Linked DNA regions of Homo sapiens: regions 2, 3 and 4 are each linked to region 1. Evidence: promoter capture Hi-C in 16 types of primary human blood cells and fetal thymus (Javierre and others, 2016). All regions are on one chromosome and are shown on one strand. Each heading gives the region's core, a stretch centred on a gene start or on the middle of the fragment in contact. The rest is flanking DNA. Distances are from core to core; before and after follow the strand shown.

Region 1 (3,337 bases), core at 466-2,965:
GCCATAAAGAGAGATCTTATTAATGTCTACAAATACAACTCTTGATTATTTGTACAAACAGAGGGTATGGCAAAGACCACTACCACATACATGGCAAAATTCAAACCTAGTGATGTATTTGGTTGGAGGGTGTTCCTTAAGTATTACAGCTTTAAAGGTGGCCCCAGAATACAGGATTTATGGAAGGGTGTCAACAAATTATTAATATTTTATAACCTATCCAGCTCATGTCCAGAAAAACATAAAAGCAAATGCTCTAAAAAGACTGGAACGTTACTGATTCTACGTAACATGAGTATGAGTCAGGAAAAATACTGCCAATCCAAATGTTTAAAACAAAAAGCAGCCACGTAATTTGAAAGTAGTATATTTGAAACCTGTTTACATCTTCAGAACATTCCTGGCCTGATGATTAGATAGCAAAATCCGTCTGTAAAGCTGACTGTGAAGTTACCAAACTCAACCATTATTTTATTATAATTTGTTAAAAACTCTGCATCCAAAGGATTACAAGTCTACAACAAGAAAAAGCACAAAAACAATTTGTCAAACCGTGGGCCTCCTTTGAGTAACAAATAGCAATTTTTAACCTCTGGATAGCAGCTAGATATACCCTTGTCATCGTGAAGCTAAAATGACCCAGTTAACAATTGCAGGGAGTTGCTGAAATGAGGTATGGCTAGAAAAATGAAAGTCAGTCTGGCTTTAAAAGCAAAAGTCTACCATTAAACTAATGAAAGACTGCTCTGAGCACAGTATGTCAGGAAAAGGCAGGCACTCTGAGATCACCATCTTTGTACCTACATAACTGTCACTAGCTAAGAATCGCTGTGCAAAAAGACAAAAACACACAAAAGGAAACCAACAGATAGTACCGTTTGTAAAAGAATGTGATGATATTTTAATGCGAGGGGGATGGGAGGCAGCAAGAGAACACACACACCACACATCCTCTGGGAAAATGATCTCTCAGACACACACTGAAATGTTTTTAATCAAAGACCGATACAGTAGGAATGCACAAGGAGTGCAACGTAAAAAGAGGTCATCAATGTAGCTAGTGGCTTCAGTCACAGAAATAGCACGTGCCCCCACTGATTACAGCACCGCGGGGAGACCGTTATTAAATTATACCGTACGGCTCCGCTCCGGCCCAGGCTAGGAGGATGAGTGCGGGCGAGAAATGCAAACTCATCTGTGACTTGACCCAAGGGGCAGCCCCGTGAACATTCCCTTAAGAGGGCGAATGCATCTCACTCTCAACCATGTCCGGCCACGCCCTCCCGCAGGGAGGCCGCTAAAGTTTTGCTCGAGAGGGGAAACTGAGGTAGAGGTGATTTACATGCGTTGGCGGAGGGAAACCCAGGCAAGCCAGTCTCCCCGGGCCCGGGACCCCGAAGCCGTGGCTGTGGCGGGGATCCTCAAGGGGGCAGGGGGCGGCCCGGAAAGCGGGTCCAGACGATCCGGCTCGAAATCCCCTCCCCCCACAACAGCGTCGCCCGCCAGAGCCGCCGCCCGGTACCTCTCGATGACTGAGGCCACCAGCTGCGGCAACTCCTTCATCTCGAAGGCGGAGTAGGACGCGGACAGCAGGGGCCGCACAGCCACCTCCCAGCCCGGGGTCGTGTCCGCCCCCGTTGCCGGGGTCCCCGGCGCCGGAGCCGCTGCCGCCGCCTCTTCGCCGCCGCTCGTCGCCATCTTCCGTCGTACTACTGCGGCTCCCTCCGGGGGCTTGCCACCGGCCCAGCGCCGCCTCCCAGGAGGGGGCGGAAGTGACGCAATCTGTCGCGTCAGACTGCGCGCCGCCGTCATGGGTCAAAAACGCGACGCGCGGAGCGGCCTTTGCTCTCACCGGGGTCGAGCCGCGGCGAGGGAACGGATCGGAGACGCTGCGCCTGCTCAGAAGGTAGCGCAGCGGGGAAAGGCGGGAGAGCGTTAACTTCTGAGCCTGCGCGGTGGGAGTTGCTCAAGCAGGTGGTAGCGACTTGGCTTCCGGGCAGCGGGTAAAGGTGAGTCTGGGGCATGGGTTCAGTGGGCAAGTCTAGGGCAGCAGAGTTGACTACGCCTCGGCGTATAGAATGGCCCTGGCCTGGGACAGCTAAGGACGACAAGAGGAGGCCGAAGCCTAAAACGCTTTCACCTGCTTCTTCCCCTGCCTAGATCCCCCCAATAGTAATACTAAAGAGCGCCATAGTTTACAAAGATTTCTCCCTCTCACAACACCTTTTAATCACTGATCCGTATTCCCTTAGCACTCAAATCTCTTCTGTTTGGATTGCCCTCATTAACAATCTGACCAGCTCGTACAATGCATCCCTCTTTGCAATTTGCCACGTATGCTTACGTGTTCCCCTTTTTTCTACTGGCAAGGAAAGAATGTAAGCTTTTATTCACAGGAGATGTCTGAGACTTTTGCCGGTAAAATGATCTGGCTACAAGGTCTAAGAGGGAAAAGCAGTTTGCTCGAGGAAAGGTATTCGTGCATTAAGGACAGTCCTGTGAGTGAGATATTGGTGGACGGCTTCAAGCTCTAGCCTGTGGCCTACAGCTGGCCTAAATAAGACTGGGAAGGAACTGTGAAGACGGTTTCAAATTCCTAAAGCCCTGAAATTCTCCCCCTAAGTTTAGGAAGAGCTTTTGTTCTTGGTGTGTAACACTGATAAATGAATTGGTACCTAGTGATTAATCTGCACTTTTATTAAGATATGACCTACTTTACCTTTTTTGAGACAGGATCTTGCTCTGTCGCCCAATAGCCCAGGCTGGAGTGCAGTGGCAGAGTTGCAGCTGGCTGCAGCCTCCACCTCCCTGGCTCAAGTGATCTTCCAGCCTCAGCCTCCCCAGTAGCTGAGACTATACAGGTGCAGGCCACCACTCTTAATTTTTTTTGTTTGTTTTTAAGAGACAGGTCTCCCTACGTAGCCCAAGCTGTTTTCGAAGTCCTAGGTTCCTCCCACCTTGGACTCCCAAAGTGCTGGGATTACAGGCTTGACCCACTGCGCCCAGCCTGCATCTTTACATTCGAAATAAAATTCAGTCAAGTCAAAGCCGGTCTTGGAGGAAAATGTGGCTTTGATGACAGCAGTAGGGATTTTCCTTCAGTGCCTACTTACCAGAGGATAATAATAACAGCAAGTTTCTTAAACATAAAAACATCAGAAATGAAAAAGAACTTTCCATAACACTATAAATATTGCAGTATTTCAAGATACTGAACCAGAGCCCTAAGGAAAGGCTGGAGACCCAGAATTTTATAATGGCTTTGGGACATGAATTTTATTTTAACCAGAGGACAAAATTAATCTGCAAAAGCTGTCTTGGAGAAATTTCAGGAAAT
Region 2 (3,337 bases), core at 236-2,735, 680 kb after region 1:
AATTTCACATGACAGTTGGAGGTATTGATCACGTCCCCCTGAGCCTTCTTTAGGCCAAACATCACTAGTAGTTCTTCATATTGTATTAAAGCCACATCATTTATCTGAATACGTCTCTCTTAAAATACAGTAACTAGAATGGTACCCAGTACCCTATCTGGTCTGACCCCAAATAATAAAACCTTTTCCTTTTTCTGCACATTTACTATTATTACTGCAGTCTAGAGAGCACGTTAGGTTTTTTGGTGCGTGTGTTGCAATATTGTCTAATAGTAAATTATTGCGCACTCAAAACATTTGCGTGCTCTTTATGTAATTGGTTGTTTTTGTGAACTCAAATGCGAGACCTGCCATATATCCCTATAACACAGTGGTTCTCAAGCAGGGATGATTTTGCCCTCCAGGGGACATTTGGCAATGTCTAGAGACATCTTTGGTTGTCACAACTGATGGGGAGGGAGGTAGTGATGTGCTACTGACAGCTAATGGCAGAGGCCAAGTATTCTCCTAAACTTCCTACAGTGCACAGGACAGCCTCCCACAACAAAAAAATGATCCTGGAATGTCAATAATGTGGAGATTGAGAAGCCCTGCTATAGGTAATGGTGAGAGTGTGAACTCAGGAAGTGGCCCAGATCTCCTAGAGGCCCTTTGGGCAGCGGTGCTTTGTTCTCATGAGTTTCTTGAGTGCTCTTATTGGGCTCACCTAAGGAAACCCAGGTCACTGGAGTGTTTGTTCATTACCTTGTAATCCTGTCAGAAAAGGAAGTGATTTGTCTATTTTGGCTTGTTTTGGGTGAGCTCAAAGAAAGTTTGGTAAGTAATGAAAAGCATATTAAAAAATGTAACAATTAAAACTCTTAAATATTATTTTTAATTCTGCTGCCTAGGGGTAACTATGGCTATCATTTTGGTGTTGACATTCGAGCGAGAGCCACGTTATTTGGACTTGGATCCTGGGCCTACCACTTACTAGTTTTGTGACCTTGGGCAGGTTTCCCCTGAGGGATGGTAATAGGACCTATCTCAGAGTTGTGAGACACAACATGTTTAATACATATAAAGTGTTTAGGACAGTCCCTGGCACATTGTAAGAACTATTTAAGTGGTTGTTTCTGTGTGTTTTCTTGGCATACGTTTGTGTGTGTTTCTGTGTCTGTGTATGTGTATAGTGTACAGATGAACTTGGTTGAGTTCATGTGGCATATACAGTTCTACACCTACTTTTTTGGAGAACATTTGCTCATGTTATTAAAAGTTCCTAGCAAACATGTAACTGTAGAATACCATGAATTTTGGTACATTAAATGTAAAATAACTACATAAATTTGTGATAAATCACATCTCTTAAACTAAATTCAAGAATAGGCTAGTGGTGGCAGATGCTGATTAAGAAAAGTTTGAGGGAAAAGCTTGACATTTAAATTGTTTTATCGATTAACTTACTTTTCTCCATGGTTGAAAAAAGACTGCCATTGTCAGATTTTAGCAAGACACCTCAGTCTAGCCTACAGAACTCTATATTCCACTCCTTCTAGAATCTTGTCTTAGATTGTTGGAAAGCTTCTTGGTTTTTAATTTATAGAAGCTGTCTTAATTCTCCCCTCCCCTGCAAAAAAAAAAAAAGTATATATTCTTATACATTAGAAGAGATTCCAGCCTTTCTATAGCTTTCTGTTGAAAATTCACTTTTCTGAGTTGAAAAACAAAACCCCCTTTTTTCCTACACATTTAGACATGAAATCTTTCTGAAAGTGATGAGTTTATACTTTGGAATTACAGTATCATAGTTTTTCATTTGGAAGAGTAAACAGTTGGGTGTAAAACTGGACAACTGTTTGGCTTCAGAATTGTTTATTTCTGTAGTTTTAAGGATACCAGATTGTGTTTGTCTTGTTTGAGTCTCTGTGTATCTAAGCCTCTGTGTTTGTGATAGTTCGGAATTTAGAAGCCTTTGAGGGGTTTGAAAGTAAAGATAACTCTTACAGTTTATTACCAGTATTTTAATTTTAGAGAAACAAAATGTGGTGTTTAAAGTTTTCATTTGGCAGGAATAACAATGGCATTGTTGCTCCCTGGGTGCTAAGTGAGGAGGCAAGGAGGAAGTGTCTTTCCATAGTACAACTGTTTGTTGTCCAAGTGCTTTCCTTCTCATGACTTTCTCCACTATGTTCTTAGGACTCAAACAGAGTATTGTTCAGTTGTTAGTATTGGCAGCTTGACAAATTGCTATTTTTTGGGTACTATTTGTTAAATGAATGATTACTTAGCTGGGTAGCTGTAGTGGAACTTGTTTTAGAAAAGAGGCTGTAGATAGGACATGATTTTGGAAGAGGATCTGTAAATCATAGCCCTTAGGCATGGAATGGCCTATAAGGTCTGGACCTTGTAGTAAGGTGGTTAGTGTATCACCGGCTCCACTTGTTGAAGCAGCTGAGGCCCAGGGAAGTTTGATGACTCTCCTGAGTCAGCCAGCTGGTACATGGGGAATAGAATCCTTGTTTGCTGCCTCTCAAGAAGGTAATATGGTTGAATATGCCCTCATGCTGTCCCCCGTGGTCTTGGAAGAATCCTGGACTATTAGAGTTGAGTCTTTACCTCTGTGTGCACAAAATATTTCCATGGATGATCTGGCATGAAGCATCATTGTTTTAGACGAACTAAGTTCATTTTTGAAAGGTCTTGACTCGTGTTGTTGTTTTGACAGCAATTGCTTGTTCAGAGCTCTTGGTGATCAATTGGAGGGACACTCACGAAATCATCTCAAGCACAGACAGGAGACAGTGGACTACATGATAAAGCAGCGGGAAGATTTTGAACCCTTTGTAGAAGATGACATTCCTTTTGAGAAGCATGGTAGGTTCACTGTGGGACATTGTGTCCTTCAGGAGTAATGCATTGGGTAATTAAGTCCACTGGCATCCTCCCCCCTCCCAGCCAAGGGTTTGGTTATATAAATCACGACATTCATTTATTCAAGAAATATTTGTTTGCCTACTTGGTTATCGGCAGTATGCTAGGTAGTTGGGGATCAGTAGGTTTAGCTGTATATGCCCTTAATAAACATGATGGTATTAATTGACCTGAAAAGCGATTCATGACTTCTTACTCTGTGGGGTGGGAAAAGCAGGCTATAACATAGCTTGTATAGGTTGATCCTATTTTTAAAAGGTATACAGACACAGTAGGAAAAGTCTGGAAAGATACTAACATTTTGTTTGTTAATTCTTAGCTTCACTTATTTTTCAGAAATTACTCATTCTCTTTAAACTTCTATAGAAGGGAGATAATAATAGCATCTATCTCACAGGGTTTTTGGTGAAGATTAAATTAGATA
Region 3 (3,337 bases), core at 426-2,925, 570 kb before region 1:
CCTCCATCCCCCCAACCGAAGAAGAGAGAGGGGGAGGCGGGAGCAGAGACTAACGAGAAACAACAATGAGGAGATAACTATTACAAAGGCAAACACTGGCGCTCGCGCGCTCGCAGCCCCAGAACCCGCGGTAAATAAACAAAGTCTGCAAACTGTTTGCTAGATAAACTCGTGCCTAAATTGAGTGTGACGAGCAAGGAGAGAAGAGACAGAAGGAGATAAGGTTGGAGGGGGATGAATGAGCATAATCTAATAGAAGACATTTAGAAAACAAACTTTAAACAAGGGAGAACAGGCGAGCGGAGGGCAATTATCCGCCCCAGAGAGCGGGGGAAGCCGTCGGAGGTCTGGGAAGGGGTGGAAGGGAGGGGACTGGGAGCTGCGGAAGAGCTGAGTGTTGGGGGGTGCCTTTGGGACTCCGTGGGGAGCCAAGAGGGGCTCCCCAGGGCGCGCAAGAAAAGAGGCTCGGTTCCCGGATTGAGTGAGGTTCCCGTGCTCAGCCGGTCTTGGAACGCAGGCACGTCTGAACCGGGTGGGGTCCCCCGCTGCGAGGGCGTGCGGGTTTTGTGTTCCCCTCGGGGCACGCACCGCCACACTTGGGCTGTTTCAAGGCGTTTGTACCTAAAAGACTAGTGTGCACGGCGCAGCGGTTAAAGGAATTAGATATTTACCAGTTTGAAATAAGCCTGGCTAAGAAGAAGAGAGAAGAGAGACATTGAAAAGACGAGGCTGGGGGAAGACTTCAAACGAATTCATCATTTGGAATGGTGGAGGGGAGATTTACCAGACAGTATTGGGAAGTTATTTAGATATTAATAACACATTTTCCTGAGGCGCGACCACAGCAGCCATCTGCGCTGCTCTCGGAGCTATTTGGCTGGGTAAAATATGGGCGTCTCAAATGTTGGGAAGAGATAACGCAATCAGGCTAACCCTGGTCCTGAGACTGCATCGCAGCGTTAAACCCGGATTAACCTCCCCCCCCCCAACTCCCGCGGCCCCCTCCCCTTTCACAGCTTTCCAAATTTTCAGTGGAATTTACATGGAAGGATTTAAAAGCACATATAACAGTAGCCTTAAAGCAGTAAGGTGATTATTTGGGCTTTTTTTTTTAAGAATGTCTTTCTGAAAATGATAGTTGTCACACATTACATTATATATAAATAATATTATATAAAACATATTTTTATATAGGAAAAGAGGGCTGAGCAAATGAGATTTCATTCCAGGTTACCTCTTTGGAGTTTCTATTTGCCATCATTCTATCACCATCAACAAAGTTGATGAGGCTTCATTCTGTACTGTGAGGCAAGAGCACCTAAGGATATAAACATGTAATGTACAAGGTCCTGGCCGTGGCCCTGGAAGCTCATAGTCTAAGACTAGACAGAACTCACACCCCTGAAAAGACAATGCCTGGTTGAGGGAAGGGTTCCTGCACAGAGGAGAGACCCCCAAAGAAAGGTTCTCTAGAGGCTCTGGGGCCTTGAAGGCCATGACTAAGGGGGGAGGACACATTCCAGAAATTCCAGAAAAATAGCTCTTCTCTCCCTCCCATTGCAGACTAAAGGGGTAATTAGCAAACAGGATGAGGGTTAGAGGCGCTGGGAAGATTAGGATGCCCCCCTCAGTTTTTGCTGTCCGGGGCCTTCCCTCTTCTTTTCCCCTTCCCCCAACTCTGGCTGAAAGAGGAAAAGGTGGAAATGGGGTCAGCGCTTTCTGACCTGCTCTGGAGCGATTGGCCCCGGCTGGGGTGGAGCAGGGGGAGGGAGGGAGGGAACTCGCCTTCCCAAATCGAATCAAGGCAGAACGGTGACCTAAGGGGGAAACTTCGCCATTAGTAGATAGATGTCTCCAAAACTTCAAACGAAGTGGGGTGGGGGAGAGGTGAGGCGGGGAAGGAGTCCAGTGAGAGCGCAGGGGGAACTACCAGCATGGGAAGGGGAGGGGCCTGGAGGAGGAAGAGACGGGGTCGAGGGCAAAGGGGAGGCGGGGGCCAAAGGAAAGGGTGTGGGGAGGGGATGCGAAGGGAGGGGGTCGGCTGCACTTGGAACTTCAACCTCCTGGGAGAGGAAAAGCGTCTGCGGGTCGCTACAGCCTCGGGAGGGGTGAAGGGAAGTTGTGTGCGCCCCAAGTCCAGCTCAAAAGAGGCCCCGAGGGCATTCTAGGGCGCCTTGGGCACGCGTGCCAGGCCCCCGGTTTGGCAGCCGAGCTGAGCGAGGGTGGATTGCGAGGGGCACTGGGGCCGCCGCGGAGCTCTGCGTGTCGGCTGCCAGTGAATTGGCCGATTTCCCCAGTCTGAGGGTCAGCGAACGGACCTTTCCATGGCTTGGTCGCCCTGGTCCTGGAGGTGCGCTGGGCCCGAGCTCCGGTGGAGACCAAGGGAGGGGTGGGGAGAGGCAGCGGAGACAGAGAGCCACAGAGGAGGAGAGAGCTAGAAAATTCAGAGTGAGAAAGTCTGAGCGCAGCAGAAGAGAATCTTGCGCACAGTTTGAGGACGCTGGAAAATGCGGAGGCGCCGAGGGAGGCGCCGAGCAGCAGGAAGAAAGACAAAGAGATGCAGAATCACCGAGAGACTGGCCCTGGGACAGGCGGATCAGGAGAGCCAGCGGGACCTAGAGACAGCCCGCGGGAGAGCACGGGCCGAGAGGGCGAGTGCTCAAAGCCGGGCAGCGGCTAGGGGAAGATAGGAGGCGGGCGAGCCGCGGCCGCCCTTTTGATCCTTCGTGGCTTCGCCTTATCAGAAGCGCTTTCGGTGACATCCGCACAAAGGCAGTTCATCATATTACAGCACGTCCCGGCGGCTCGCTGCGATCCTGCCGCTTAATTAGAGGCGAGCGAGCTGGGCCGGCAGGGCGGGAGGGAGGCCGACCCCGAGGCGGGAGGCCGGGTTCTGCGCTCCAACCCGGGGCGCTGGGCAGGGGCCAGCCCGCGTGCCTGGCGGTGTTGGGACGTGGAGAGAGGGAGAGGCCGGGAACTGCATTCAGAGCGTTGCTAAATTAACAGGCCGGCCCGGGCTTCACTGCCCGGAGAGTGAAGCTCGCCGCCTTCCAATTTAGCCGCCGCCCCTTCTAAGTTCTTGGGAAGGGATGGCGCTCCGGCCACTTTCCCCTCTTCCAGGCTGCGAACGCTGCGGACTGGAGGGCGAGTAATGGGGAGGCAACCCAGGGCGAGCTGAAGGCTTAGTGCAACTCCGGGTCCAGGTCGCACCCACCAGCCCCCCGCGGCTGTGTTCCATCCCCTCCTCCGACCGCCTTGCTCTCCATCCGAACCCAGGTGTGCCAGGCTGGAGCAATCTGAGAGGGGCAAAGTGCATCGTGGTCGAGGTTCTACTGTC
Region 4 (3,337 bases), core at 522-3,021, 550 kb after region 1:
GTTTATTTTGTCTCCTCTTCTTCTAGAATATAAAATTTAAGCTCCAAATCCACTGTGCATCCCTAGTACCTCGGCCCATGCCAAAAACAAAGCAGAGGTTTAATAATCTTTGTACGTAAGAGGAATGGAATATTTGTAGAAATGAATGAATGACTGAGTGGCTGGAACTCTGTTGGGAGAGATCCAAATGCAGGGGACAGTTCTGCTGGATGAGATGTATATCCCCTTTCGGCAGAAACATCCTATGACCAATAATCCTATTAATCTGGAAGCTTCATTTATCACCTACTCATCTAGATCAGATTCTGCACTACACTCTCTGCACGTATTGGCTTATTGAATCCTTATGACCCTCTGAAGTGGCGGGTACTATAGAAACTCCATCTTCTCAAAGAGGAAAGTGAGGTGCAGAGAGCTTAGGCCAGTGGCCAGGTTCACCTGGACAGCGAGTAGTAAAGTGGCAGCCTGGGTGCAGATGCTGTGCACCTGACCGCCACCCATTCCCCGCACCATGAAGTGGGAAGGAGGGCCACGAGCTAGCAGAACACTGTCTTCCAGCCACACACCTCTCCCCGAAGCCCGCCCATGCTTCCAGCCTGCACCCCTTCCTCACGGCCTCCTTCTAAATCAGCCCATGATCAATGGGTGCTGCAACATCCCCCCATTGCTCCTGATAGATGTGCAGATTCCAGTCCAGTGCCCAGGCCCAGACTTTTGGATCCTGCCGGAAGGACCAAAGGAGCTGGTATCCAGAGGTCCTTTCCAGCTCAGAGATCTGAGGGTCAGCCTCAGGGTACCTGTTCCTCCTCACAAGGAGAGACCTTTAAAGCCCAAGGTCAAATGAACTTGAAACAGCCCAACAGCAACAGGGTCATGTGGAGACTTGACAGTCACAGCGGGACAGTGGTTCTTAGAGTTTAGGGAACATCAAGGTCCCAGAGAGCTTGTGGAATTACAGCTTCCTCGGTCCCACATGCAGGAGATCTGGGGTAGGGCTTAGGAATCTGTACTTTTAACAACACTCCCCACTCCCAGTGATTCTGAAACAGATGATTCCTACCCCAGGAAACAGAGCAGTGGGCTCCCCTCTTGCAAATGAGCTCCTCCCAGTCTGAGATAGTCTGGATGTGCTCATGCCTGGAGGCAGAGCGTGATGCTCCTCCTGCCACCTCTGCAGGGAAGGGAACCCGGCATCCCTGGCCTGCTCCTAAGCAGCAGGCATCATGGCAGGAGCTTGCATTTGTGATTGCTGATCCTCCCAATGGTCCTAGGAGGTTGTCACTATGATGCCGCATTTTGCAAATGAAGAAAGAACAGGTGCAGAGTGGATAAGAAACTTTCTCAAAGCCACACAGGTCAGAGAGTGCTGGAGCTTGGATTATAATCCAAATTATGTGATGCCAACATTTCTGCTCATTCCACTATGAGTGCCTTTTAAAGGCAAATGCCTTACTCTTGAGTGAGTTTGGTGTCCTAGGACAATCTCGTTTGGCCAGCTGTGAATCCTATATTTTATGCACATGGGGTATACATACAATCTCAGGGGCAGCCCTAGATCATGGGCCACAGGCACACCTAAAAGTTACGTATCACGGGATAACAGTTCTTTGGAAAGATGGGGGATTGGGGAGGGTGACCGAGGGATCTCGGCTCTGCCACCAGAGGGCAGAAGTGTGCCAGACACCCAGAACTGCGGGATTAGCCCTGGTGCCCACCCCAGACACACAACCACATACTGTGGGAGCCCCTGGAGCCAACTGGTCCCCCTGCTTCAACAAGAGCAAGGGGCATGTCCAGAGCCAGGCTGTGTGTTCATGATGGGACTCCTTCGCCCACCAGCATTTCTCAATACAGAAGCAGCTGCGTTTCGTACTTCATTATCGAACACTCTTATGCATCAAAGAATAGCAGCACCCTGGGAACTTGGCCCTAAATGCCAGTTGCACCCACACAGGTTGTGATAACAATCCTGACTCTCCCCACATTTCCAAATCCCCCAAATCAGGAGCGGGGGGCAGGACAGCCTCCTGTTGTAAGGCACTGAAACAGCCTGTTCCCAGTAATGGCTCCATCTCTGAGCATGGAGGTAGGGATGGTGGGTCGGGGCTGACCTCGTACCTGCTGGGAGAGCCCACACCTTTGGGAAGAGATCATGGTCAATCCCCGCCCTTTGGGGGCTGCCCTCCAGACCAAAGCGAAGGAACCCAGAGGCAGAAACTTCAGCCTTTGTCAAACAGACCTGGGTTTAAATCTTGATCTAAGTTCCTACTAGCTGAATGGGTTCAGTAAGTCTCTTAACCTCTCTGAGCCTCAGTTTCTTCATCTGCAAAAGGGGAATAAGAATATCTTTTTCTTTTTTTCTTTTTTTTTTTGAGATGGAGTTTCACTCTGTCACCCAGGCTGGAGTGCAGTGGCACGATCTTGGCTCACTGTAATCTCCGTCTCCAGGGTTCAAGCGATTCTTGTTCCTCAGCCTCCCGGGTAGCTGGGATCACAGGTACCCACCACCATGCCTGGTAACTTTTTGTATTTTTAGTACTGATGGGGTTTCACCATGTTGCCCAGGCTGGTCTCGAACTCCTGACCTCAAGTGATCTGCCTGCCTCGGCCTCCCAAGTGCTGGGATTGTTACAGGCGTGAGCCACCACGCCGGGCCAAGAATATCTTTTTGATCTGGCTTTTGTTGAGGGACAATAAGAGGATGGATGTGGTGAGCTTGGCTGGCACCTGGGACACAGTAAGTGCCCGATACAGGGTGGCTGATATTACTTCATGGGAAATTGTCATGTTTCCTCCTTCCTGTACCTGTTAAGAAGCCACTCTCTGAGCCAGGGTGCCAGGGTGAGGCTGTGGGCTGCCTGCTGCTGTGCCAGGGCAGGGGCCCTTTGTCTCTCTTCTCCCTGGGTCTGAGGACACACCTCACAGGTCACATTCATATAACTGCTAACCTCACCCACCACCCTACTATCCCTTGATTCACCAACTTTTCTAATTACATACTTTTTCTAGAATATTTATTACGTAGCCCCATTTTTACCCTAAATGAATTATTTCCCATATAAAGAAGAAACTACACAGTATTCCAGTACCATACACCCTGTCCATTGCTGAGCACTGGGTTGAAGCCCCGTTGTGTGCCCAGGGTCCCGATTTTGAGAGGCTGAGCCTGGCTGCAGAGCCCTCACAGGGCAGTCTAACTCAGGACATCTTGGGGATGATTCTTGCCTTTTGTCCTCATGGCTTAGGACGATTAAGGGCATTAAGGCAGTGACAAGCTTACTTCAAGACCAGTGGTCTTGGAGCAGAGGGGAGAGAGGAGGGGTTGCTTCTGAGACCC

What was found. The method cuts DNA at HindIII sites, captures the fragments that hold promoters and counts their contacts. A CHiCAGO score of 5 or more calls a contact.
Region 2: a fragment that was not itself captured here is called in contact with the fragment with the promoter of UBR4 in region 1 in 2 of 17 cell types (total CD8 T cells and total B cells); the score reaches 6.1 in total CD8 T cells.
Region 3: a contact is called between a fragment that was not itself captured here and the fragment with the promoter of UBR4 in region 1, in 1 of 17 cell types (fetal thymus). The highest score is 5.7, in fetal thymus.
Region 4: a fragment that was not itself captured here is called in contact with the fragment with the promoter of UBR4 in region 1 in 1 of 17 cell types (total CD4 T cells); the score reaches 5.1 in total CD4 T cells.

Annotation. Positions count from the first base shown.
Region 1 is chr1:19,208,551-19,211,887 of GRCh38, forward strand. It overlaps UBR4 (ubiquitin protein ligase E3 component n-recognin 4), which reads right to left and starts at 1,716. Exons shown (of 106, transcript NM_020765.3): 1 at 1,523-1,716. The coding sequence starts at 1,698. EMC1-AS1 (EMC1 antisense RNA 1) reads left to right here and starts at 1,836. Exons shown (of 2, transcript NR_135114.1): 1 at 1,836-2,009. RefSeq lists silencers at 1,386-1,705, 2,731-2,800 and enhancers at 1,756-1,805, 2,056-2,105. The HindIII fragment of the contact is 5,774 bases long and covers 1-2,381 here.
Region 2 is chr1:19,887,678-19,891,014 of GRCh38, forward strand. It overlaps OTUD3 (OTU deubiquitinase 3), which reads left to right. Exons shown (of 8, transcript NM_015207.2): 2 at 2,708-2,856. LOC105376823 (a long non-coding RNA gene) reads right to left here and starts at 1,487. Exons shown (of 3, transcript XR_947028.3): 1 at 1,447-1,487. The HindIII fragment of the contact is 151 bases long and covers 1,411-1,561 here.
Region 3 is chr1:18,640,977-18,644,313 of GRCh38, forward strand. The region is part of intron 4 of PAX7 (paired box 7); the gene reads left to right. Among named protein-coding and RNA genes, the nearest start is that of PAX7, 12 kb to the left of the region's middle. RefSeq lists an enhancer at 1-496. The HindIII fragment of the contact is 6,318 bases long and covers 1-3,337 here.
Region 4 is chr1:19,760,722-19,764,058 of GRCh38, forward strand. All of the region lies in intron 6 of TMCO4 (transmembrane and coiled-coil domains 4), which reads right to left. Among named protein-coding and RNA genes, the nearest start is that of TMCO4, 38 kb to the right of the region's middle. The HindIII fragment of the contact is 3,003 bases long and covers 271-3,273 here.